Linked DNA regions of Homo sapiens: region 1 is linked to region 2. Evidence: promoter capture Hi-C in 16 types of primary human blood cells and fetal thymus (Javierre and others, 2016). All regions are on one chromosome and are shown on one strand. Each heading gives the region's core, a stretch centred on a gene start or on the middle of the fragment in contact. The rest is flanking DNA. Distances are from core to core; before and after follow the strand shown. Region 1 overlaps CDKL2 (cyclin dependent kinase like 2). Region 2 holds the start of PPEF2 (protein phosphatase with EF-hand domain 2).

The links. The method cuts DNA at HindIII sites, captures the fragments that hold promoters and counts their contacts. A CHiCAGO score of 5 or more calls a contact.
Region 1: a fragment that was not itself captured here is called in contact with the fragment with the promoter of PPEF2 in region 2 in 3 of 17 cell types (neutrophils, non-activated CD4 T cells and erythroblasts); the score reaches 6.2 in neutrophils.

Annotation. Positions count from the first base shown.
Region 1 is chr4:75,574,956-75,580,895 of GRCh38, reverse strand. It overlaps CDKL2 (cyclin dependent kinase like 2), which reads left to right. Exons shown (of 14, transcript NM_001330724.2): 14 at 1,718-4,400. Among named protein-coding and RNA genes, the nearest start is that of ODAPH, 22 kb to the right of the region's middle. The HindIII fragment of the contact is 1,699 bases long and covers 1,003-2,701 here.
Region 2 is chr4:75,900,516-75,906,629 of GRCh38, reverse strand. It overlaps PPEF2 (protein phosphatase with EF-hand domain 2), which reads left to right and starts at 4,178. Exons shown (of 17, transcript NM_006239.3): 1 at 4,178-4,400. The HindIII fragment of the contact is 14,377 bases long and covers 1-6,114 here.

The DNA.
Region 1 (5,940 bases), core at 603-3,102, 320 kb after region 2:
ACCCCGTCTCTACTAAAAATACAAAAAATTAGCCGGGTGTGGTAGCGGGCGCCTGTAGTCCCAGCTACTCGGGAGGCTGAGGCAGGAGAATGGCGTGAACCCGGGAGGCGGAGCTTGCAGTGAGCCGAGATCGCGCCACTGCACTCCAGCCTGGGCGACAGAGCGAGACTCCGTCTCAAAAAAAAAGAAAAAAAAAAAAAAGCCAAAACAAAAATCAGACATTTTTTTTGAGATGGGATCTTACTGTATTGTCCAGGCTGGAGTGCAGTGGCGTGATCTCGGCTCACTGCAATCTCTGCCTCCTAGGCTGAAGCGATCCTCCCACCCCAGCCTCCTGAGTAGCTGGGGCCACACGTGTGTGCCACAAAGCCCGGCTAATTTTTTGTATTTTTGGTAGAGATGGGGTTTCACCATGTTGCCCAGGGTGGCCTCAAACTCCTGAGCTCAAATGATCTGCCCGTCTTGGCCTCCCTAAGTGCTGGAATTAGAGGTGTGAGCCACCATGTCTGGCCAATCAGACCATTTTGAATGATAATTTATTTGCTCAAGCAAGTCATTCAATGTTTAATATCTCATTATGTAAAATATTATGATGATAAATTCCCACATTCTCACAACTGTATTTATTTATTTTTTTGAGACGGTGTCTTGCTCTGTCTCCCAGGCTGGAGTGCAGTGGCACAATCTCAGCTTACTGCAACCTCCAAGTGATCCTCATGCCTCAGCCTCCTGAGTAGCTGGGATCACAGGTGTGTGCCACCACGCCCAGCTAATTTTTGTATATTTAGTAGAGATGGGGTTTCACTATGTTGGCTAGGCTGGTCTTGAACTCCTGACCTCAGGTGATCTGCCCACCTTGGCCTCACAAAGTGCTGGGATTACAGTCATGAGTCACCATGCCCAGCCCCTAACTGTATTATTGGAATTAATCTGTTAACCTTTACAAAGCATTTTGAGCATCTGTGACATCAAAGGTGAATGTACTGTGAAGTGAACAAAGCTTAAGTTTTGATCTTTCATTTGCACAGGTCCTTTCAAGGCCGTGGGAGAGTCTTTGCAATGCATTCATTTGAGTTAATTCATGTTGAGCAATGAACAACTAATTCATACAAACCGTGTAAACTACAGGGTCTGCAAAACTTGGATGCATTTTGTCAAAATTAGTCATTATTTGCATAAAAGGAGATGTGTGTTACACATGATAGTTTTTCTTTTTTTTGAGACGGAGTTTCGCTCTTGTTGCCCAGGCTGGAGTGCAATGGCGTGATCTCTGCTCACTGCAACCTCCACCTCCCGGGTTCAAGTGATTCTCCTGCCTCAGCCTCCTGAGTAGCTGGGATTACAAGCATGGGCCACCATGCCGGGCTAATTTTTTTGTATTTTTAGTAGAGATGGGGTTTCTCCATGTTGGTCAGGCTGGTCTTGAACTCCCAACCTCAGGTGATCTGCCCGCCTCGGCCTCCCAAAGTGTTGGGATTACAGGCGTGAGCCACTGCACCCAGCCATACGCAAGATAGTTTTGATTGGTAATTATTCTAAAGATTGTCTTAAAAATTTGCTTTTGATACATCTAATTGAAATCTAAGGTTTTCTTAAACTACATAGTACCCACCAATGTTATCAATATATACGATGTGAGAAAGCAAGTGAGATAGAAATTAATTTTTAGAAAGATTTTTTGTAAAATAGTTGGTGGTATATCCTCCTGTGCTTTTAGATGATGCTCTTGCACTTGAGATGACATCTTCTTGCAGCAAGAGTGCTGATATCCCAAGAGGAGAGATTCATGGTTTTGATCATTTCCTTCTGAACTGCCTGCATTTTCTGAGGAAGGCCTTCTAGAAGAAGGAAAGACAAAGACTTCCAAATGTTTCAAAGGAAGATTGAACAAATGGCCCTCCCCAACTGTTATCCCATTACCTTTCACGTCCACCGATGCTATTTCAAGACATATCCAGTGGAATAACAGTGATATGGTTCTTGTTACATGAATGTGTATTTACTGTTAGGAGATTGTATATTTTAAGTTACCATGATTAAAAGTGTGTAAAAAAGGGGGACAGAGAGAAATACTATAAAAGGCCATGTTACTCATGCATTGAACTTTGTGTGTTTTCTGTATAAATGTGTACATTTATTTAGGAGTGGGTTTCTTGGGGGTAGGTGATAAAAATTAGGATCAGTTGAAGAAAATTGAAGAAACTAGGATCAGTAAGAGAAACTGTTTGCTTTACCTGAATTTAACTATGAAAACACACTTAACAATCTTACACGTTTCTAGATATTAAGTGAATATGTAACTCCTGTCCATGGGTAGATGTGTATCTTTGACTTCTGTAATTATTTTTGATATTCTATCAGTGTATTATGAGACTCTGGCCTCCCTGCAGATCTTCTAAGAACCACACTAATGCAAGCGTGACAGAGAAACCTCTTTCGAATGACTTACTACAACTCTGGCATTGGTTAGTTCCATGTATTGTAAGATTCTGGTGCTAATGCTCCATACAGAATTGATCAGGACTGATTACTCTTCTGTGGACCAATTGCTATTGAACTACCCAGCTGAAGAGGGTTTGGGGAGAGAACGTTCATTATTATGGACTCCACTTTTGTCCCCTGGTAGTTTAAGGGTGATACTAGAATCCAGAGAAGTTCCTGTCTCCTTGTGGCCTCAAACACTCAGGCCGTCTCAAAAGCTTTTCACCAAGGTGCAAAATCATTTACCTGCATTCCACACATCTTTTCCAATGCATGGATCCAAAACTTTTTAGGTGGGAGGAATAAACTAAGTTGGCTACAGGTTCTTGATTTCTGGGTTTCTACACATGCTCTGCATTTATCATTTTAGAGAATGGTTGTTTAGGGAACCAGAATTTGTGAGTTTTTTTTTTTTTTTTGCCTTAACTAATTAATAGTGTGTTGCTTTTTTTCCAAAGCCATTGACTAGAACTTAGCTGAAGAATTTAACTAGAACTTTTCTTTATTACTCTGAGGAGCTTAATACTGAAATTCTGACCTTGGATATTTAAGCCTCAAAAGAGTAGGACATTCAAGAGGAGGCAAATAAGGGGTTTCAATGTACAAGTCTATAGGTGGTGGTTAAATTAAAATTGGTCTTGATTTAAAAGCTCTACTTTTAATCTGTGACCAGCTGTTTGACAACATTAGTATGGATAACATGCTGAAAAAACTAGGGTATCAGCATTAATAGGCTGCATATTAAAAAGTTACTACTTTATTTTTACTTTGAAAAACACTGCCAATAGATTCTGCAGCATGGCAAACAGGTAATACTTAAAGCCAAATGGCGCTTCGGCTTATTTCAATACTATTTTTATGTAAAGATCAGTGTGAGAATATCAGCTCAATGGTTGAGGTTCTAGGATCAATTGCCTTGCAGTTTTTATACTAGCTTTTGATATCTTTTGCCTATTAAAACACTTTGTGAACTTTAGAATTAAGGAACTAAAAAATATTTACCATAAGTCCAAGTTATGACTTGAGGATCATATCTGATTAGAACTGTGGCAGAACTACTAGAAAAAGATTCTGCAAATTGGTTTCAGTGATTCTTGTTGATGTAATCAACAAGATTACATAATCAACAATAATAGATATTGAACCAAAATGATCCTTTTTTTAAGTTTAAGGTTATTTAGTTTCTCTTGCAAGGATATGATTTAGTCACACACTAATAGGGAATATGTGTATGTACTGGTGGGGAGCAGTGGGCTTGCTGCATGTATGTATGTTTTAAAATTAATAAATATTATCTTACTGGGCTCCATAGATGGTTTAAATTTAGATTTATTTAATTAAGAGGCTATAAATAATATATACACTACTGTATGGTATTTAACAAATAAGTTTTAAATCTGTTAATTCTTCTGGAAAACTTTGGATGTAGGGATGGCAAGCTAATTTTCTTGTATAGCTGGTGATATAAGCAGCATGGTCATAAAATAACATTTCTTATAAAGACTAACTGGTAATAGTTGTGACAGAACCTGGTTTTCCTGACTGAGAATCCCTTGCTTGCTTAGAATATCTGACTTCCCATTGAAATGGAACATAGAAAATGTGTTTTCTTATGTGACTCTCATTATTGGTTCCTTTATCTTAGTTGTGCTACAATATAAGGCTGGACCTGTAATACACTATGTATCAGACTAGACTGAAAAATGTGATCGATTTGTTTTCTAAGTCCTCCTCTATATAACTGAACCATGGTCAGGGGATTAGAGAAGCAACAGAGCACTGCTCCTAAGGCTTTAGGCTAGTCTTAGTGAATTGGACTGAATGGATTTTTCTCTGTTGTTTTTTGCATTAAGTGTTTTTGCACTAGAAGAGGGTGCTTAACACTCCTCTATCTATATGAATAAAAAATTATGTTCTCACATTGTTTTCTCAAGGGTCTTATTTTTTCTCTTGACAGCTTCAGACATGAAATAACTAGAAAATGTAATTAATGTACAGCATATTTTTTTCTTAACATGCCCTCTGAGAAGTAAGTACCTTATGTTATCACTCGTGGGTAACTTGTGATTTAGAGCTTTGTGTTTATAGATATTTGTGGATATCTGATGTTGAATATATTCTGAGAAATTTTCTTTAAAACCAAAACCCATCCACGAGACAGCACTTTTCTTTGTTTTCAGTGAAAATTTAGTTTTGCCCATTGCACATTCTTAATTTCTATATTCTCTACTTTGGCACTCAGGGCCATCTCCTGTAGAAGTGAAGTTTCTGGTAACATTTTGGAAAATGTATTGTCGATTAATATGAACATATAAGAAAGGTTCAGGGAAATGAAAACAACATATCTCAATTCAGCATGTTTTCCTATCCCTAAGCTAGGGTAGGTTCTCCTATCAGTCTGGAGAACAGGCTTTCATATCAGTTTACCTCCATCCAGCTATCCCACCTGCTCTAGACCTGGAAAGTGATCTTCATTAATCTTGCTGCTAGGATTTAAAAGTATCCCCTGACCACCCCCACCCCCCACCACAAAATAATGTTTTAATTGGTCACTTCCCTCCTTAACCTGTTTTATTATTTTATTTTATTATTATTATTTTTTATAGAGACGGGGTCTCACTATGTTGCCCAGGCTGGTCTTTAACTCCTGTGCCCAAACGATCCTCCTTCCTTGGCCTCCCAAAGTGCTAGAATTACAGGCAAGAGCCACCATACCTGGCTTCCTCAACCTGTTTTTAGTTGTCTTCCTTGGCTTCTCACTCTTTTGTTTACATGTATACCTATCTCCCCCGATTTTTTTTTCCCCTTTAACTAGAAAAGCCATTTATTGAAAGGAGTTAAGTTGCTCCTCAACCCACCAGAAGAGTCAGGGTTAGATTCTGAAGGCACACAGGCAAGAACAATACCCAGTGTCACTGCCTCACTAAATTTTCAGTGTCTATAAAGATGGGGAACCTTATTTATCTATTTTTGCTCTACACCATCTAGCACAGTAATAACCCTATGAAAGTAGGAATGTTATTCATGTTTTATAGGCAAGATAATAGGCTTAGAAAACTTAAGGAATTGACTCAGTGTCACTCAATAAATGATAGAGCCATGAGTGTTGAAATAAATATATGATTATGATTATTTAGAGCTGGAATTAATTTTTAAAATCTGTTTAGATAATATAACATTGAGAGCTTAGACTCCTGGAGCTACATGCTTCCTCATTTACTTCTAGAGGAGAAGAGAAGGAGTTTCCCCAGCCATTAAACAACACTTCACTGTCATTGAGCCTAATTTGGATACTGCTCATCCCTGAATCAATCACAGTAGCTAGGTGAATGACAAGCACTGATGGGCTTGAACCTTGGGCCTCTGTTAAATTCCCTTCCTTGAATTAATAATGGGATCAAAGGGAAACCGGATTATACTGATTGGCTTAGGCCAATTGCAGCCCACCCATGGAACCAC
Region 2 (6,114 bases), core at 2,929-5,428:
GAACCAGAGTGAGCGCTTTTGGGCTCTGGCCCCAGGGCAGCTTCTAGGGGTGGTGCTTTGACTCCTGAAGCCCCAGTAGGCATGCTACAGTGCTCTTTTAACTCTGCCATCCACAGATGGCTTAAGTGTTAACCAGCTCAGTGTCCCCTTGGTACCCGGGCCCTTGTCCAGCACCCAGAAAGAATCAGGTTACACACAGACTTGAAGAGTGGTGAATATGGGGGTTTTATTGAGTGGTGGAGGTGGCTCTCAGCAGGATGGATGGGGAGCTGGAACGGGGACGGAGTGGAAAGATGATCTTCCCTTGGAGTTCAGCAGTCCTGTGGCAGAACTCCTCTCCAACTGTCCCCAGCTGGACTCCTCTAGATATTCAGATGCTCCTTCTCTGCCATGCCGTTCTTCAGTTCTTTGGCTCTTCTGCTCATCTCCTCATGGACCCAGGGATTCGGGGTTTATATGGGTACAGGATGTGGGGTGTGGCGGGCCAAGATGCAACATTTGGGCACGAAAACAGGAATGCCTGTTCCCATTTGGGGCCTCGGGTTTCCAGGCTTGAGGGTGGGGCTTTTGGCAGGTAAATAAATCAAACAAAATAAATAACTTTCCAGTATTTCCCCGTCTCCTGTTCATATCAGGAAGATTGCCTGGGTCTATGAGTTTGAGACCAGCTTGGGCAACATAGTGAGACCTCTGTCTCTACAAAAATAAAAATATTAGCTGGGAGTGGTGATGTGTGCCTGTAGTCCCAAGTACTTAAGAGGCAGAGGTGGGAGGATCACTTGAGCCTGGGAGGTCGAGGCTGCAATGAACTGTGGTCATGCCATTGCATTCTACCCTGGGTGACAGAGTGGGATCCTGTCTCAAAAAAAGAAGAAAATCTGTTAAAAGGGTAGATTTCATGTTGTGTTCTTACCAAAATAAAATAAATTTTAAAAACAAGAGGCAATAAAATTTTTTAATTAAAAAGTTAAAATTTATTTTTTTATTTTGAGACAGCATCTCACTCAGTTGCCCAGGCCAGAGTGCAGTGGTGTGATCTCTGCTCACTGCAATAGCTGGGACTACAGACACACACCACCATCCCCTGCTAATTTTTTGTATTTTTTGTAGAGACAGGCTTTTGCCGTGTTGGCCTGGCTGGTCTTGAATTCCTGACCTCAAGTGATCCACCCACCTCGGCCTTTCACGTGCTGAGATTACAAGCATGAGCCACCACGCCTGGCCTAAAATAAATAAATAAATAAATAAAATTGAAAATTTTATTTAAAAAATTTTGGCTGGGCGCAGCAGCTCACACCTGTAATCCCAGCACTTTGGGAGGCCGAGACAGGTGGATTGCATGAGCTCAAGACCAGCCTAGACAACATAGCAAAACCCCATCTCTACAAAAAATACAAAAATTAGGTGGGTATGGTGGCACATGCCTGTGGTCCCAGCTACTTGGGAGGCTGAGGCAAGAGGATTGCCTGAGTCCGGGAAGGTCAAGGCAGCAGTGAGCTGTGATTGTGCCACTGCAAATACCAGCCTGGGCAAGTAAGACCCGTTCTCAAAAAATATATATATATTTTTAAATAAAAATGGCTTGGCCTACAGAGCTTTCATGGCAGATGGAGAGAGCTGGTTTTCAAAATATTCTGTTTTTAAAAAGTACACAAGTGACTGGGCATCACCATGCTCACGCCTGTAATACCAGCACTTTGGGAGGCTGAGGCTGGCGGGTCACCTGAGGTCAGGAGTTCAAGACCAGCCTGACCAACATGGAGAAACCCTGTGTCCACTAAAAATAAAAAATTAGCCAGGTATGGTGGCACATGCCTGTAATCCCAGCTACTCAGGAAGCTGAGGCAGGAGAATCGCTTGAACCCAGGAAGCAGAGGTTGCAGTAAGCCGAGATTGCGCCATTGCACTCCAGCCTGGGCAACAAGAGCGAAACTCTGTCTCAAAAAAAAAAAAATAATAATAATAAGAACACAAGTAACAGATTTCTAATATAAAAATAAATCAAACAGTACATAATGTGATCCTCTGCCTCTCTTCCCCACTTGTGGATGGCACTCTCCCCATGAGTACCCCTAGTGATAACTGCCATCTGTACTCATTAAGACATTTAAAAATGCATAAACGTTTTAAAATGTAGATTCTATTTTTATTCAGGTATGATAAGGCCAACAGATCAGGGGACAATTGCCATTTAAAAGATAGCTTATTACTCCTCGTTCCCAAGAGGAGAGGTCACACCTGCACAGCCACGGGAGAGAACACTGAGGTTGGTCACAGGCAGAGGACAGGAGAACTGTGGTTTTCGAGGGAAGGAATGGGTGAGGCAGGGTAAGGCGGCTAAGCAGGTGGAGGACTAGCTAGTTGGAATAGTGTCAGCTGACTCCTGACTGTAGACTGCACTGAGTTGTCTGATATATGATGTCAGGGTGATTAGGGTAGAGAGATAACGGCCTTGAGTATGAAAGTCCAAAAAAGGAGGGATTTGGTGGTAGGGCTCTAGATTGGTTAGTTTGCATCTCAGGGATCAGCTAATCCCAGGAGGTGTAGTCTCTCCCTGGTCAACAAGGCCCCAAAATGTCAAAGCATCAATATGGAAACTAGAAAATATGGGTAATACCACATAAAAAAATATCTTAGGTTATTTTCCAACTTTTCCTAATCACAAATTATACAGTAATAAAAATCCTTATATAGATTTTTGCATGGGTGTATAATTCTGTAAGATACTTAGAAGTATAATTTCTAGATTAAAGGATTTACATATTTTAAGTATGTAATTTAATAAATTACAATTAAAATTTAATTTAATTCCCCCAAAATGAAACATTTTAACGATCCCAGCAATAGTATATGGAGAGGGTCCTTTTTCTCATACTCTCAGTAATACAGGATTTTATCAGTCTTTTAGTCAACTTGGAGAAAGAATGTTAGCAGTCAGCCACTAACAAAAACTAAGCTAATGTGAAAATGTTAATATCAGACAAAAGAGAATCAAATGCAAAAAGAATTTTAAAAGGCAGAGTGATATTTAATTTTTATGTCACCCTCTACCAAGACAGTTAAATGACAATACGGCTTCATGTGTAATTACACAGTTGCCGATGGCAATTTTACATGGTTTAAATTTAATATCTAATTATATAGCTTCAAAACGTGTAATGCAAAGACTCAAATACAAGGAGAATTTGCTAAATCTGTACTTGTCATAGAAATCTTCAAAATACCTCTTTCAAAGATGGTCAGATCAGGAAGAATAAACAAAGATAAAGAGGATCTGAATTAATATAATTAACAAATTTAGGCCGGGTGTGGAGGCTCACACCTGTAATCCCAGCACTTTGGGAGGCTGAGGTGGGCAGATCACTTGAGGCCAGGAGTTGGAGACCAGCCTGGCCAACATGGAGAAACCCTGTCTCTACTAAAAATAGAAAGACTAGCTGGCCATGGCAGCGGGGGTGCCTGTAATCCCAGCTACTCGGGATGCTGAGGCATGAGAATTGCCTGAACCCAGGAGGCAGAGGTTACAGTGAGCTGAGATTGTGCCACTGCACTCCAGTCTGGGCGACAGAGCAAGACTGTCTCAAAATAATAATAATAATAATAATAATAATGAACAAACTTGACCTACTAGATATAGACAAACAGAATATCACTTTCTTTGAGAATTTCCATGGTGCATTTAGTACCTACCAGAACACACACACGAGCATCTTAGATTAACTGAAAAAGTAAGTTGTCCAAGAATAGTGATTAACCACAGATTAGGTTATATCCTAAGGAAAGTGTCCATAGAAAGGGCAGGATATTTCAAGCAGGCTTTGCAAACAGAAAAGCCAGCCCCAACAAAGAATGCCTCCTATGTGTCTTCTGCTGAGGACTCCCCTTGGACTCCAGAGCCCCTAGGCCCCTGTGTCTTGTCAGCACTCTGCTATTTCAGGGCTAAGGAGCTCAGGCTTCTCAGATGTGGCCTGGGAAACACAGTCTTCTAATCCAGGAGAGTAAGAAGATTTAGGACTGACGTGGGTGCTGTTAGAGAAACCCATCTCCTTGGGTATATGGGAGATACCCCGACTATGCAGTCGCCCCCTTCAAATCTTCCTTGGGGGCCTGATCTGACTGACGTCAGGGGGTGCCTACTCCTTCGAGGCAAGAAGCCTGAACTTTCCTTCCTGTCACTGTGAATACTTGGCCAGGGCTGTGAATGTCACCATTGCTTTTCAGGAAGAAGACATGGCAGACTAGGGCTGCACCTTCTTTATGGGCTCTGTAGGTCTGAAAGAAATCAGATCAGCCTGGGATCCCTCAGCCAACTCTGAAGACAGGATGGGGATCACGCCTGCATGTTAAAGAGATTTCTGCCTTGTTGTGTCTCATGGTAAATAAAAAACCCAGCAAAGAAGGTAAGAACTTTCTGTCTAGCCTAAAGTAGAAATGGGTGAGAACAGGAGGGCGACACTTATGTTTTTACCTAGGAAATAAATACAGAGTTGTTTTGAGACAAAGGTCAAAGACAGCTCCTCTGTTATCTATCAACTCATCCAGATGGGGTCTTTGCTATCTGTGTGATGAGATCTTCAAGTGCTGGGTGACCATTCTGCCCTGGATTTCTTGGGCTCACTTAGTGGACAGATAAACACTTTTTTTTTCCACCTAAGAGACAGAGTCTCACTATGTTGCCCAGACTGGAGTGCAGTGGCTGTTCATAAGTGCAATCATAGCACACTACAGCCTCGAACTCCTGGGCTCAAGCAGTCTTCTCACTTCAGCCTCCTGAGTAGCTGGAACCACAGGCATGCTGCACTACCACCCCTAGCTAATTTTTGTTTTTCATGATAATGTGAGGCATTGATGATGCTAAGTCAAATTCTAGAAGGAGAAGGGGTCTCACCCACGTTGGGTGGATGTACTCATCACCTGGAGAGATGGCTCAGCTTGGGAAATCATCAGGGGGAGAAGACAGCTGGTGATTACCAAAGGTGCTGATTCAACAATCTCGGGCTCCCTCAAGCTCGTTTTCTGTGGCTGACCTTATGAAGTTTTCACATTTTTAGTTTTTCCCTTGAGAATTATTCTACTTCCCCTTTCTGTTCATTTCCTTTTTTTTTTTTTGAGGTGGAGTCTCGCTCTGTCACCCAGGCTGGAGTGTAGTGGCGAAATCTTGGCTCACTACAACTTCCACCTCCCAGGTTCAAGCGATTCTCCTGCCTCAGCCTCCCAAATAGTGTAGCTGGTATTATAGGCATGTGCCACCATGCCCAGCTAATTTTTGTATTTTTAGTAGAGATAGGATTTCACCATCTTGGCTAGGCTGGTCTCGAACTCCTGAGCTCAGGGGATCCAACCGCCTCAGCCTCCCAAAGTGCTGGGATTACAGGCATGAGCCACGGCACCCAGCCATTTTTCTTATTGATTTCTAGAATGTTCTCTGCTTGTCCGTAGATGACTCCATCTTCTTCTCTTAAGCAGCCATATGGGATACCTATTTAGTCAGAGCCACTTTCTAATTTTTCTTATGTGTAAAAATTTTAGAAAAATATCATTTATTGATTTTTAATTACAAAAGCTGTAATAGAAGTATATAAGTTAAAAATGGAAATCTCTCACCCAACCTCTTTCTCCAGAGGTAATTACTGTTAATAGCTTGGTGTATAGTCTTTCATTTTTATATACTTACTGACTTTTTTTATACAGATGATATCACACTAGGCGTGCTCTTCTGGAATTTGCTTTTCTTCATGTAACAATATATCTTGGGGCCGTTTTCATATGATTACATATCGACTTGCCTTGTTCTTTGTCATGGTGGAATACATTCCATTGTTTTTAAAGCATCATGATGTATTTTGTTGATTCTTTACTGATAATTATTTAAGGTGCTTTTTATCTGAGGAGGAGAAGAACTTTAAGAGATTTTTGAGGATGTCATTTAAGAAAATTCCTTATCTATGTTTTTCATGACGATGACAAACATTTGCAAAGTACTCCTCATATATAACCTCACTTCACACTCCTAACAACCCTGTAATGACGTTACCATTATCCATAAATAACAGAGAAACAGATGAGACCAGGGAGCCCCAAGGCAGGGATCACATGTGCCTTTGCTGTTATAAT